Linked DNA regions of Homo sapiens: region 2 is linked to region 1. Evidence: promoter capture Hi-C in human tissues and cell types (Jung and others, 2019). All regions are on one chromosome and are shown on one strand. Each heading gives the region's core, a stretch centred on a gene start or on the middle of the fragment in contact. The rest is flanking DNA. Distances are from core to core; before and after follow the strand shown.

The links. The method cuts DNA at HindIII sites, captures the fragments that hold promoters and counts their contacts. A contact is called where the count stands out against the background at its distance.
Region 2: a contact is called between a fragment that was not itself captured here and the fragment with the promoter of ST8SIA5 in region 1, in 1 of the 25 tissues and cell types used here (hippocampus).

The regions. Positions count from the first base shown.
Region 1 is chr18:46,753,784-46,759,046 of GRCh38, reverse strand. It overlaps ST8SIA5 (ST8 alpha-N-acetyl-neuraminide alpha-2,8-sialyltransferase 5), which reads left to right and starts at 1,994. Exons shown (of 7, transcript NM_013305.6): 1 at 1,994-2,669. The coding sequence starts at 2,539. ST8SIA5-DT (ST8SIA5 divergent transcript) reads right to left here and starts at 1,604. Exons shown (of 3, transcript XR_001753434.3): 1 at 588-1,604; 2 at 1-250. RefSeq lists a silencer at 2,022-2,411. The HindIII fragment of the contact is 8,707 bases long and covers 1-5,263 here.
Region 2 is chr18:46,909,216-46,914,478 of GRCh38, reverse strand. All of the region lies in intron 1 of PIAS2 (protein inhibitor of activated STAT 2), which reads left to right. Among named protein-coding and RNA genes, the nearest start is that of PIAS2, 5.7 kb to the left of the region's middle. RefSeq lists enhancers at 2,574-3,073, 3,074-3,575. The HindIII fragment of the contact is 6,307 bases long and covers 1-5,263 here.

The DNA.
Region 1 (5,263 bases), core at 745-3,244:
TGTGTGTGTGGGAGAAAGAACCTCATCTCAGAATCCCAAGACTTGTTGCTAGGTGAGTTACTTTGGGCATCTGTTGCTTTAGTCCTTTCAGCTGTAAAATGGGTTAGCCAGGGGCTAGGAGGTGAAAATTCATTAATATATGCAAGTGAAGCACGTTTTTATGTGCCAGACAGCAAACAAATACAGGAATTATTATAATAATGGGCCCTCTAAATGTTGGAGTTTTTCTTTAATTGGTTAAAAAGCCTACCTGTGGCCGGGCGCGGTGGCTCACGCCTGTAATCCCAGCACTTTGGGAGGCCGAGGCGGGTGGATCATGAGGTCAGGAGATCGAGACCATCCTGGCTAACAAGGTGAAACCCCGTCTCTACTAAAAATACAAAAAATTAGCCGGGCGCGGTGGCGGGCGCCTGTAGTCCCAGCTACTCGGGAGGCTGAGGCAGGAGAATGGCGTGAACCCGGGAAGCGGAGCTTGCAGTGAGCCGAGATTGCGCCACTGCAGTCCGCAGTCCGGCCTGGGCGACAGAGCGAGACTCCGTCTCAAAAAAAAAAAAAAAAAAAAAAAAAAAAAAAAAAAAAAAGCCTACCTGTGACCTTGCAGAGAAATACAGAAACTCTTCATGGATAGCACAGGGGCCACTTCTGCCTTATGAATTAACACAAATCCCGAATTCTTGGTGGAACCCTTATCATGAGATTTTACTGTGCATTATTTGATCTTTCCAGTTCAAAGAAGAAACTACTAAATGCCAAGGTCGAGAGTATTGGAGTCTGGGCACTTCCCCCATCAAAGTTCTTGTGCTGAGGTTTGAGTTTCGGTCAGGTTCGCTGTTGAATCCCTGGCCTGACTCTAGAACATCCCGGAGTGCCTGCTGGAACCTGGGAAGGGGCACCCTAGAATCTTCCAACCGGCCTCAGTGGCGAGCGCCGCGGGCACACGACTCCCAGCGCTTGGAGCCTCTGCGGTGTTAGGATGACAGGACTGTCGCCTGGCCGGGTTGGGGGGTGGGGACGGTATTTCAGGCTAAGAATTTCTGAGAGGCACGACATTCGCATTGCGTTTCTGTGATTATTCTCCCTGGCTTGCGTTCTGAAGCACGAATCTTTCCGGATGTAGTAACTGGCTTCCTAAAGCTTTGGGGGGACTGTGGTCCCCGAAGGCTGCCGGCTGCCTGACCTAAGATTTACGAGTGGTTCCAAGGATGAGACAAGGTCCCAGTGTCTCGGTGACAACAGGGTCTTTGACGAACGGCTGCCGAGTTGCAGCTGGGGAGGGGGAAGAGGACTGTGGCGGGGGCGGGGAGCCCCTGAATTTCTTCCTTGTAGGAGTTGGGCGCCGGGGCACGGGCAGGCAGCCCCGCAGGCCATCAGCATGCAGGAGCGGCGCGCCGTCCTTGAAGGGCTGCCCGGCTGACCTTGCTCCGCTTTCTCCGGAGAAATCGCTAGGAGAGCGCGAGGACGCGGCCACGATGGTGACTCAGTGCCCTGCGCGCCGCACGCAAATGCTCCCTTCCATCAAGTCCAGCTCCGCAACTGTTGTTTCCTCTTCCTGCCCTCTTTTTTTTCTTTTTTTTTCTTTTTGAGACGGAGTCTCGCTCTGTCGCCCAGGCTGGAGTGCAGTGGCGCGATCCCGGCTCACTGCAACCTCCGCCTCCCAGGTTCAAGCGATTCTTCTGCCTCAGTCTCCCAAGTAGCTGGGACTACAGGCGCGTGCCACCACGCCTGGCTAATTTTGTTTTTTGTATTTTTAGTAGATACGGGTTTTCGCCATATTGGCCAGGCTGGTCTTGAACTCCTGACCTTGTGATCCGCCCGCCTCGGCCTCCCAAAGTGCTGGGATTACAGGAGTGAGCCACCGCGCCCAGCCCCTGCCCTCTTTTTAATTCCAAGATTCAAACCCGGCGTTTTGCGCTCCGCCCCTCCCCCTCCCCACGGCCCGCCTATCATTAGCCAGACTGCGCGGGTGTTTTGTACGCCCCCTCCCCCCGTCCCTATCGGCAGAACCGGAGGCCAACCTTCGCGATCCCTTGCTGCGGGCCCGGAGATCAAACGTGGCCCGCCCCCGGCAGGGCACAGCGCGCTGGGCAACCGCGATCCGGCGCCGGACTGGAGGGGTCGATGCGCGGCGCGCTGGGGCGCACAGGGGACGGAGCCCGGGTCTTGCTCCCCATTGGCCGCCACCTCGGCGGGAGGGGCCGCCTCCGGCTCGTGGCACCTGGCGTCTCCCCTCCGCGGGGAAATCGGCGGCTACCCGGCACCGGCGCCTGGAGGTAAAGGTACCCGGGGGTGGGGAAGGCCCCTGGCCGCGGCAGAGCTCCCTGCCACCGGCCCTGTCCTGCTTGCCGCCCCAGCGCCTGCGACGCTTGGATGCCCCCAGCTCCGGCCGCGCCAACCAGAAACTTTGCCCCTCGAAGTCCCCCGCCTGCCTGACCGCACCGTGAGGCGCCAAGTCGGCCGCGCGCCCCCCGGGGCCCCGGAACCCCGCGAGTCATTGCCTGGCCGCCCCGTACCCCGCGCCCGCGGCGCCCGGTAGCCAGGATGCGCTACGCGGACCCCTCGGCCAACCGGGATTTGTTGGGGAGCCGAACTTTGCTCTTCATCTTCATCTGCGCCTTTGCCTTGGTGACCTTGCTGCAACAGATCCTGTATGGCAGGAACTACATTAAGAGGTAAGAAAGTCCATTGAGAGGGCGGGATGCGCGGAGCCGGCCGGCGAGCCCCCGGGTGGCAGTGGCCGCGGCAGCTTCGGTCGCAGCGCCCCGGGGTGAGTGGCCGTGGGGTCCGCTCCTAGCCCCGAGCATGGCCGCTTAGGCTTGGGCCACCGCGTTTCCAAGAGCATCCTTGCTTGCTTCTGCCCAGCGCTGGCTGGAGGGTCCAGACAACTTTGTTCCGCTGTGAAAAATGAAGGACAGAATAGAATTCCAAGCAACCAGGCTGACGATAAATCCATTTAATACCCGGAGAGACCGCATGGATCGGAGCGGTGTCCTCCAGACCCACAGTTCTATGGCCATTTGTTTGGACTCCGGGGTCGGAGGGCTCAAAATCGTATCGATTGTTTGTTTGTTTGTTTGTTTGTTTATAACCTCGCGAGTCCTGAACTTTCGTAAGGACCCTTGGGAGAAAAAGCATTTTCCCCTCCAGGAGCTTCGGGTTCGGTGGGGGTGGTAGTGTGGGCTGTGGCTATGCGACAGGGATAGTGATAGTGAAGTCTTACAATCCCACAGCCACTGGATCTGTGAAACTCAACAACCTGATTCCTTCTGAAACAGATGGCTTTTTTTTTCTCATCCTTAGCGCAAAAGGTCAGAGCTGCAGCATAAGTTAACCCCTCGTTGGGCTCTCCCCCTACTCCACCCCAATCCACGGTTAAACTCCAAGAGAAAGAGCAGTAGGAGGTGTCACTCAGAAATTCAATTCGGGCACAGCCTCAGCCTCTCTATTTGCAGAAGATACACTGAAATGCCAGCCACTTCCTTCTGCCGGCTCTGCTGGCTTAAGGAAACACTTGGGGTTCCTCCGCCTGGTTTGAGAGATTAGGGGAGGTTCTTGCTCTAGGATACACCCATATCAGAGCCTCTCTTGGCAAGAGCCCTCTCTCCTAGCTGCTGGGCTGTTTTTTAGTTTGCTGCTAGTGTCTCCCTACTCTCACCGCCCCTCCCCTAGGTTGATAGGAAAATAAATGTCTCTCTAGCTAAGTAAGCATCCCACCTTCTTCTCTAAACTTCCCCATAACGAAACAGCCCTCTTCTCATCCTTTGGGTGAGGTGGATACATCAGGTATGGGTGCTCCCAATCTGGGCTGCCCACGAAGGTGGGAGGGTGAGGATCGCTGCTAGGTGTCGCTGTCCAGTGGAAAAGCCGAGCACTTAGGCTGTTTCCCCTCCTTGTAACTCCCCCGGAGCTGGGGAGTAATGAGGCACCTTGTTCTGAACATTTGTTTACAGCCAGTTGCTGCTCCGGACCTTCCCAGGGAGCGTTCCCTGGTTGGTGGCAGCTCCTGAGTGCTGTCTGACACTGGTGGCTTTAAAGGCCATCTTCGGAGTCTCCTGGCTTCTTGGATCTGATTGGGCCTGCCTCTTGTTTTGGCTACTGCTGCCCCTGAGATGATCCTATGCAAGGACAGCTGGGTCCCCCACAGCTTGCTGCGGCCCTGCAGGCCGATTGCCTGCTGCTGTCTTGGCACTTGCTCTTCAGCAGGGCAGCTCTGGGTTCCTGCCCCCTCCCGGCACCTCCCCAAAGTTGCTGGGGCTGCTGGGATTCCTTCTGCCTTGTCAACAGGGGGAAAATACAACCGCCCATGGCAAACGCCAACCAAACTACCTGCTTGCTCTGGCAAGTCCTCCCTGGTCTTGGGTGGGTGGGCTAGCTGCCAGGAGTTCAGCAGGCACACAAGGTGCTTCCCTTCCTCCCTCACAGAGACCCTGACCCCCTGAATCGCATAGATGCTATCTTGCAGGCCTCACTCTAGAGACTCAACCCAATCAACCAGGCAAAACTTGTATAGGGCTGATCCTGGAAGCGTGCCTGTAGATAAGGGTCTGTAAAGAAGGAGATGATGTGGTCTTGGTACTCAGAGGACTCGAAGTCTATTTGGGGCAACAAAATAGCCACAAATGAAACAGAAAGTGAATGTTAAACTGTCTGAGAAGAGAAGCACTGATAGGCTGGAGAAGTTAGGCAAGACTGTGCCCAGAGGAAGTTGAACTTGAGTGGGCCTTGAAGGAAGGGTAAGATTTGAGGGTGGGGGCAGGGGGCATGCACATCCAAAAAGTGGGCAGGAGCAAAGGTGCAGAGATGCAAGTGTGTCACAATTTCCTCCCGTCTCTCCCACACCTGACCCTACCTACACTGCAGCACTTGGCTTAATCATTGGTTAGTCCTGATCTTGAACTGGATGTGGCTGTCACATCAGTGTCACCCCTAGCACCTGCTTACCTATCTTGTTTCCTCCATATATCATGATTGTAATGAACTGGCCTGATGTGATTATCATCAGTCTGTCTCCTGTCTACAAACACTTGACCAGTGTTCTTCAAGCAGAGGCTCTGGGAGGGCCTGAATCAGAACCAACTGGAGGACCATTGAAATGCAGACTCCTGAGCCCCTGAATCTGACTGTCTTCGGGTGAGATCTACTAACCTGCCTTTGTAACAAGCTCCCCAGGCGATCTGCAAGCTGCAACAAGCTCCTCCTGCTGCTCTAGACCAGTGGTTCTCAATCCCCTATTCCCCGTGGCAATGTTTGGAGACTTCTGTGGCAT
Region 2 (5,263 bases), core at 1,485-3,984, 150 kb before region 1:
CCAGAGATCTTGGCTGGTCATAGCAGAATATGGCAGCTCTATACCTTGTTGCCTTTCAGTCCGGGTGACCAGAATACCAGCCCACCTCTCTTCCAGTTCTTCTGGGAGAGAGAATCTGATTGGCTGAGTTTAGGTCTCTACTTCTGTTCTAATCATCCATAGCCGGGGGCTTAGAGTCAAAGCACACAAACCTGATCAGCAGATTATCCTGATGGATTGAAGGAAAGGAAGTGGGGAAGTTCTCTGAAAAGGGAAAATGTGGCCTGTGTGCTCAAAGATGGTTACAATAATGTGTTATATATTAGAAGCTTTCAAGGTGCCAGAGAAGAAATTACTCAATTTACCAGTTGCTTATTTATGGCATCTGTGTTGTTAGGAGCTGAAGGAGTGATTAGTTTGTGAATGAACAGATTTTGAATTAACTAGTTGTGAATTAATGTGGGACAAGATCATAAGATTTGATGGCCTGAACTTCTGTCACTGCTGCCTTGCTTCCTCCTCCAAAAATGGTCTGGAGGGCAGGGCTTGGTAGCTCACACCTGTAATTCCAGCGCTTTGAGAGGCAAGAGGATCGCTTGAAGCCAGGATTTCTGGGTTACAGCTAGCTCTGATCTTGACACTGCACTCCAGCCTGAGCGACAGAGGGAGACCCTGTCTCAAACTAGTCTGTAGAAGAGCTAAGCACAGGGATGGAGGAGAGCAGGAGTTGAGTTTCTGGAATCACTTACCTCTTCTTTAACCAGAGCAGCTTTTTCTTTACCCTTCCAGTTGCATATTTCCAATATTGTGGTCTGCTGGTGGCAGTCATTCACAAAAAGGTCCCTGCTACACTTTAACCTGGTTAATCTACTTTCCCTACTTCTCATCACTCAATGGGGAGGAGGGGGATCTATTGTAGTGACTTTTTTTTTTTTTTTAAGGATCTCCCTTCTGTATTCTTCATCCCCTTCTTTTCATGCATTGAGAATTTATTCTGTGTGTGTCTCAGAATGAGAGAGAATGTGCCTGTGAGAATCTGGTTGTGCATTTGGCCTGAGAGAGCCAGCGATGATAACTTTATCAATAGATACTGGGTAAACCAGAACATTTACCAAACTGGGTAAATTTGTTGTGTCATAATTCGAAGATCAGATTTGGGTCTTTCATGCTAAGAAGCCTAAGTAATTCTGTAACAGAAGGTCTTCTGTCTAGAAGGCTTAAGTGTTTGGTTTCCTTACACCTACCAGGAGTCACCATCCTGATAACTTCAAGTGCTGTTAGGATGCAGCAGGAGAATGGGAAGTTAATGGGGGATTTGAGGTTAGAGGTCCTCATCACGCTCCTCTCCCCATTTATTGGGCAGGGATACAGACTAATAGCTATGATAGATATAACAGAATCTTCCATATGATTCAAAGCTATTATGGGATGCAACTAAAATTTCCAAGGCTTCACCTGAGCTCATGTCTATGAAAGCACGTTCGAAACAAAATATATTTAACTTAAAGTGAAATAGGCTGGGCGCAGTGGCTCAAGGCTGTAATCTCAGCATTTTGGGAGCCTGGGGCGGGTGGATCACCTGATGTCACATTTTTTATTCTCTCATTTCCATTTCTCATATTTTTTAAATGAAAGCAATATTTGTGCAGACAGTACTGAAAAAATTCAAAATAGTGAAAGTCTTCCCTTTTCCATTAAATCCCACTCCCATTATGCTTTTAACCATTTTTGTTTGTTTGTTTTTAGGGTTTTATTGTTGTTCCAAAAGTCTAAAAATATACCATGCCTTTCTCTCTATATTTTTTCAACTCAAAAAAAATATTTCTTAACTTTTTGCTAGATAAGAAATTTAGGTCATTTTCCACCTGTCCTAGACTTTGATTTCTATCAGTTACATTTTGGTTCCTAATTTTGCTGTTATTTTTAACTTTTTATTATAAATTTCTGTTTATTGACCTATCACTTTTAGACAGTATATTTGGCCCTTCATGTCTGTGAATGACTTATCTTTGGTTTCAACCAACCTTGGATCAAAAATATTCAGGAAAAAAGGTTGGTTACATCTGTACTGAACATGTACAGACTTTTTTCCTTGTCAGTATTTCCTAAACAGTATAGTATAACAACCATTTCATAGCATTTGCCATATATTAGGTATTGTAAACTAGAAATGATGTAAAGTACGTAGGAGGATGTGTATAGCTTATATGCAAATACTATGCCATTTCATGTAAGAGACTTGAGCATTCTTGGATTTTGGTATCTGCAGGGGACCCTGGTACCAGCCCCCTACGGATACTGAGAGACAACTATATTTCCTCACTTCCTGGTCTTTCAGAAAAAGATATAACACCGATCCCTTTCCTTTTGGGATTTAAAAGCCAAACCTTGCCTTTGTTTTTCCCTCCTCCCTTCCTAGCCTTTGTTTTCTTTTTTCCTTTTTTTTTTGAGACAGGATTTTGCTCTTGTTGCCCAGGCTGGAGAGCAATGGCGCCATCTTGGCTCACTGCAACCTCCGCCTCCTGGGTTCAAGCGATTCTCCTGCCTCAGCCTCGCGATTAGCTGGGATTACAGGCACCTGCAACCATGCCTGGCTAATTTTTGTATTTGTAATAGAGACAGGGTTTCACCATGTTGGTCAGGCTGGTCTTGAACTCCTGACCTCCGGTGATCCACTCCCCCTCCCTTGGCCTCCCAAAGTGGTGGGATTACAGGCATGAGCCGCTGAGCCCGGCCCCAGCCTTTGTTTTTGGTTAGTACTGTTACATTGGCAAGATTTATTGCATTTATATAATGTTTTATAACTCTTCTAAAGTTTTCTGTGCTTCTGCAGGAAAATCTAGAAATTGAGTACTAATAGCCACTCTTTTAAATATGTATGTTGACATGAGTATTAGTTACTATAGAACCAAGTACTGTGGAGCCATAGAGAAACTTCACTTCTGTTAAACCTGTGATCCTTAAAAAGGAAATATAACAAAGTCAGCCGGGCACAGTGGCTCACGTCTGTAAGCCCAGCACTTTGAGAGGCCCAGGCAGGCGGATCGCCTCAGGTCAGGAGTTAGAGACCAGCCTGGCTAACATGGTGAAACCCCGTCTCTACTAAAAATGCAAAAATTAGCCCGACGTGGTGGTGGGCACCTGTAATCCCAGCTACTCGGGAGGCTGAGGCAGGAGAATTGCTTGAACCCGGGAGGTGGAGGTTGCAGTGAGCCAAGATCATGTCATTGCACTCCAGGCTGGGTGACAAAGCAAGGCTTCGTCTCAGGAAAAAAAAAAAAAAAAGAAATATAACAAAGTCCTGGTTGAATGAGGAAAGCTCATTGAAGTTATTTTTAAAATTTAATATTATAATGGGTTCTCATGTTGTAGCCATTCAGCTTGTCTTGGTAGACTTTCCGGAGTCTTGGCCTGCCTTTTCTAATTTGGGAAGCTTAGTAGACCTGTTACCCAGCTGTCATCCTGGGATTACTTCACATTGTTCTCCTGGGTTAGATCTATTGTTATTTGGATCCCATGTTTTTCTCTTTTAGATACCTTTTTTATTTTACAGGAATACAGCCTTCAATAGTTGTTTCTGGAAGGATATGCTGGTGATAAACTTTCTGAGTTCTCGAATGTTGAAAATGGCTTGTCTTTGTTCCTGATTGAAAGTTTACATGTGGAATTATAAATTCCTCAGAATTTTGAAAACTTTGCTGTGGGAATCTAAAATACTTGGTGTGCTAATCAGAGGTCCATTGCAGATCTGATGGTTATTCTCCTGTAGAAGATTGTAATCTACAATTGTAGTCTACGATCTACGGGATTTGTTTACATTCTGAAAGGTTTCTTTGATTTTGTCTTTGAACTTTTCTATAAAATTTATTTCAGTAGTTATCTTTAATTTATAAGAGTTCTTCTATCATCTTTCATTTTTCTTTCTTTTTAAATAGCAACCTGTCCTTGATTTATGGGGAAATACCTTGAATTTCTCTGATGCTAATTTCTCTAGAGTTCTTGAGACACTTCCCTGAATTGGTGACTCTAACAGTGGGTTTGTATTTAGGTATTCCATACTAATTTTTGTATTTTAAATATTTAAGTTATTTGATAAGTACAAAAGATTATAACAGGTAAGGCGTATGTAAACAAACATACATATAATTACCAACCAGTTTACTAATTCATTAGTGTAACTTTAGCAGGATGCACTTTCCTGATCACATCCACTGCAACCATGTCCACCTTCACCAATGACAGTAGCCATTGTACTGAATTTTGGATTCATCATTCCTGGTCTGTCTTTATACTTTTAACATATATACATATGTAAAATTTATTTATTTATTTATTTATTTTTTGAGACGGAGTTTTGCTCTTCTTGCCCAGGCTGGAGTGCAGTGGCGCGATCTTGACTCACCGCAACCTCCTCCTCCCAGGTTCAAGCAATTTTACTGCCTCAGCCTCCCGAGTAGCCGGGATTACAGGTGTGCACCATGCCCGGCTAATTTTTTTGTATTATTAGTTTTCACCATGTTGGCCAGGCTGGTCTTGAACTCCTGACTTCAGGTGATCCACCCGCCTTGGCCTCCCAAAGTGCTGGGATCACAGGTGTGAGCTACTGTGTCTGGCCATCCATATTTCTTAAATCCAAATGTTTGAAAATGAAGAGAAAAAAACTGTAAAGTTTCACCAAACTTGTCTTGCAGAAAAACCCTGACCTGCACTGATATTGTAATCTTTGTTGATCTCACTTAGTGTGAATATTTGTATGTTTCACTGTAGAGATTCTAGGAATAGAATTGCTGGTATTTAAGAAGAATGTGTGCATATTCACCAATATTGGATAATGTCAGATTATCTTCCAAAAAAGGTGGTGTCAGTCTTCGTTCTCTCCAGCAATGCAGAAGTTTTCATTACTCAGCTTTCTTGCTAACATCTACTTTTGTCACACTTCAAAAGGTTTTATCGGTTGGGCATGGTAGCTCACGCCTGTAATCCTAGCACTTTGGGAGGCCATGGTGGGTGGATGGCTTGAGACCAGGAGTTTGAGACCAGCCTGGGTAAAATGGTGAAACCCCATCTCTACCAAAACAAAACAAAATTAGCTGGGCATAGTGGCCCACACCTGTAGTCCCAGCTACTTGGCAGGCTGAGATGGGAGGATCACCTGAAGCTAGGAAGTGAGCTGTGATCATGCCATTGCACGCCAGCTTGGGCAACAGAGTGAGACCCTGTTTCAAAAAAAAAAGTTTTTACCCACGAGTATAAAATACCACCTTTTAGTTTTCATTTGCTTTGC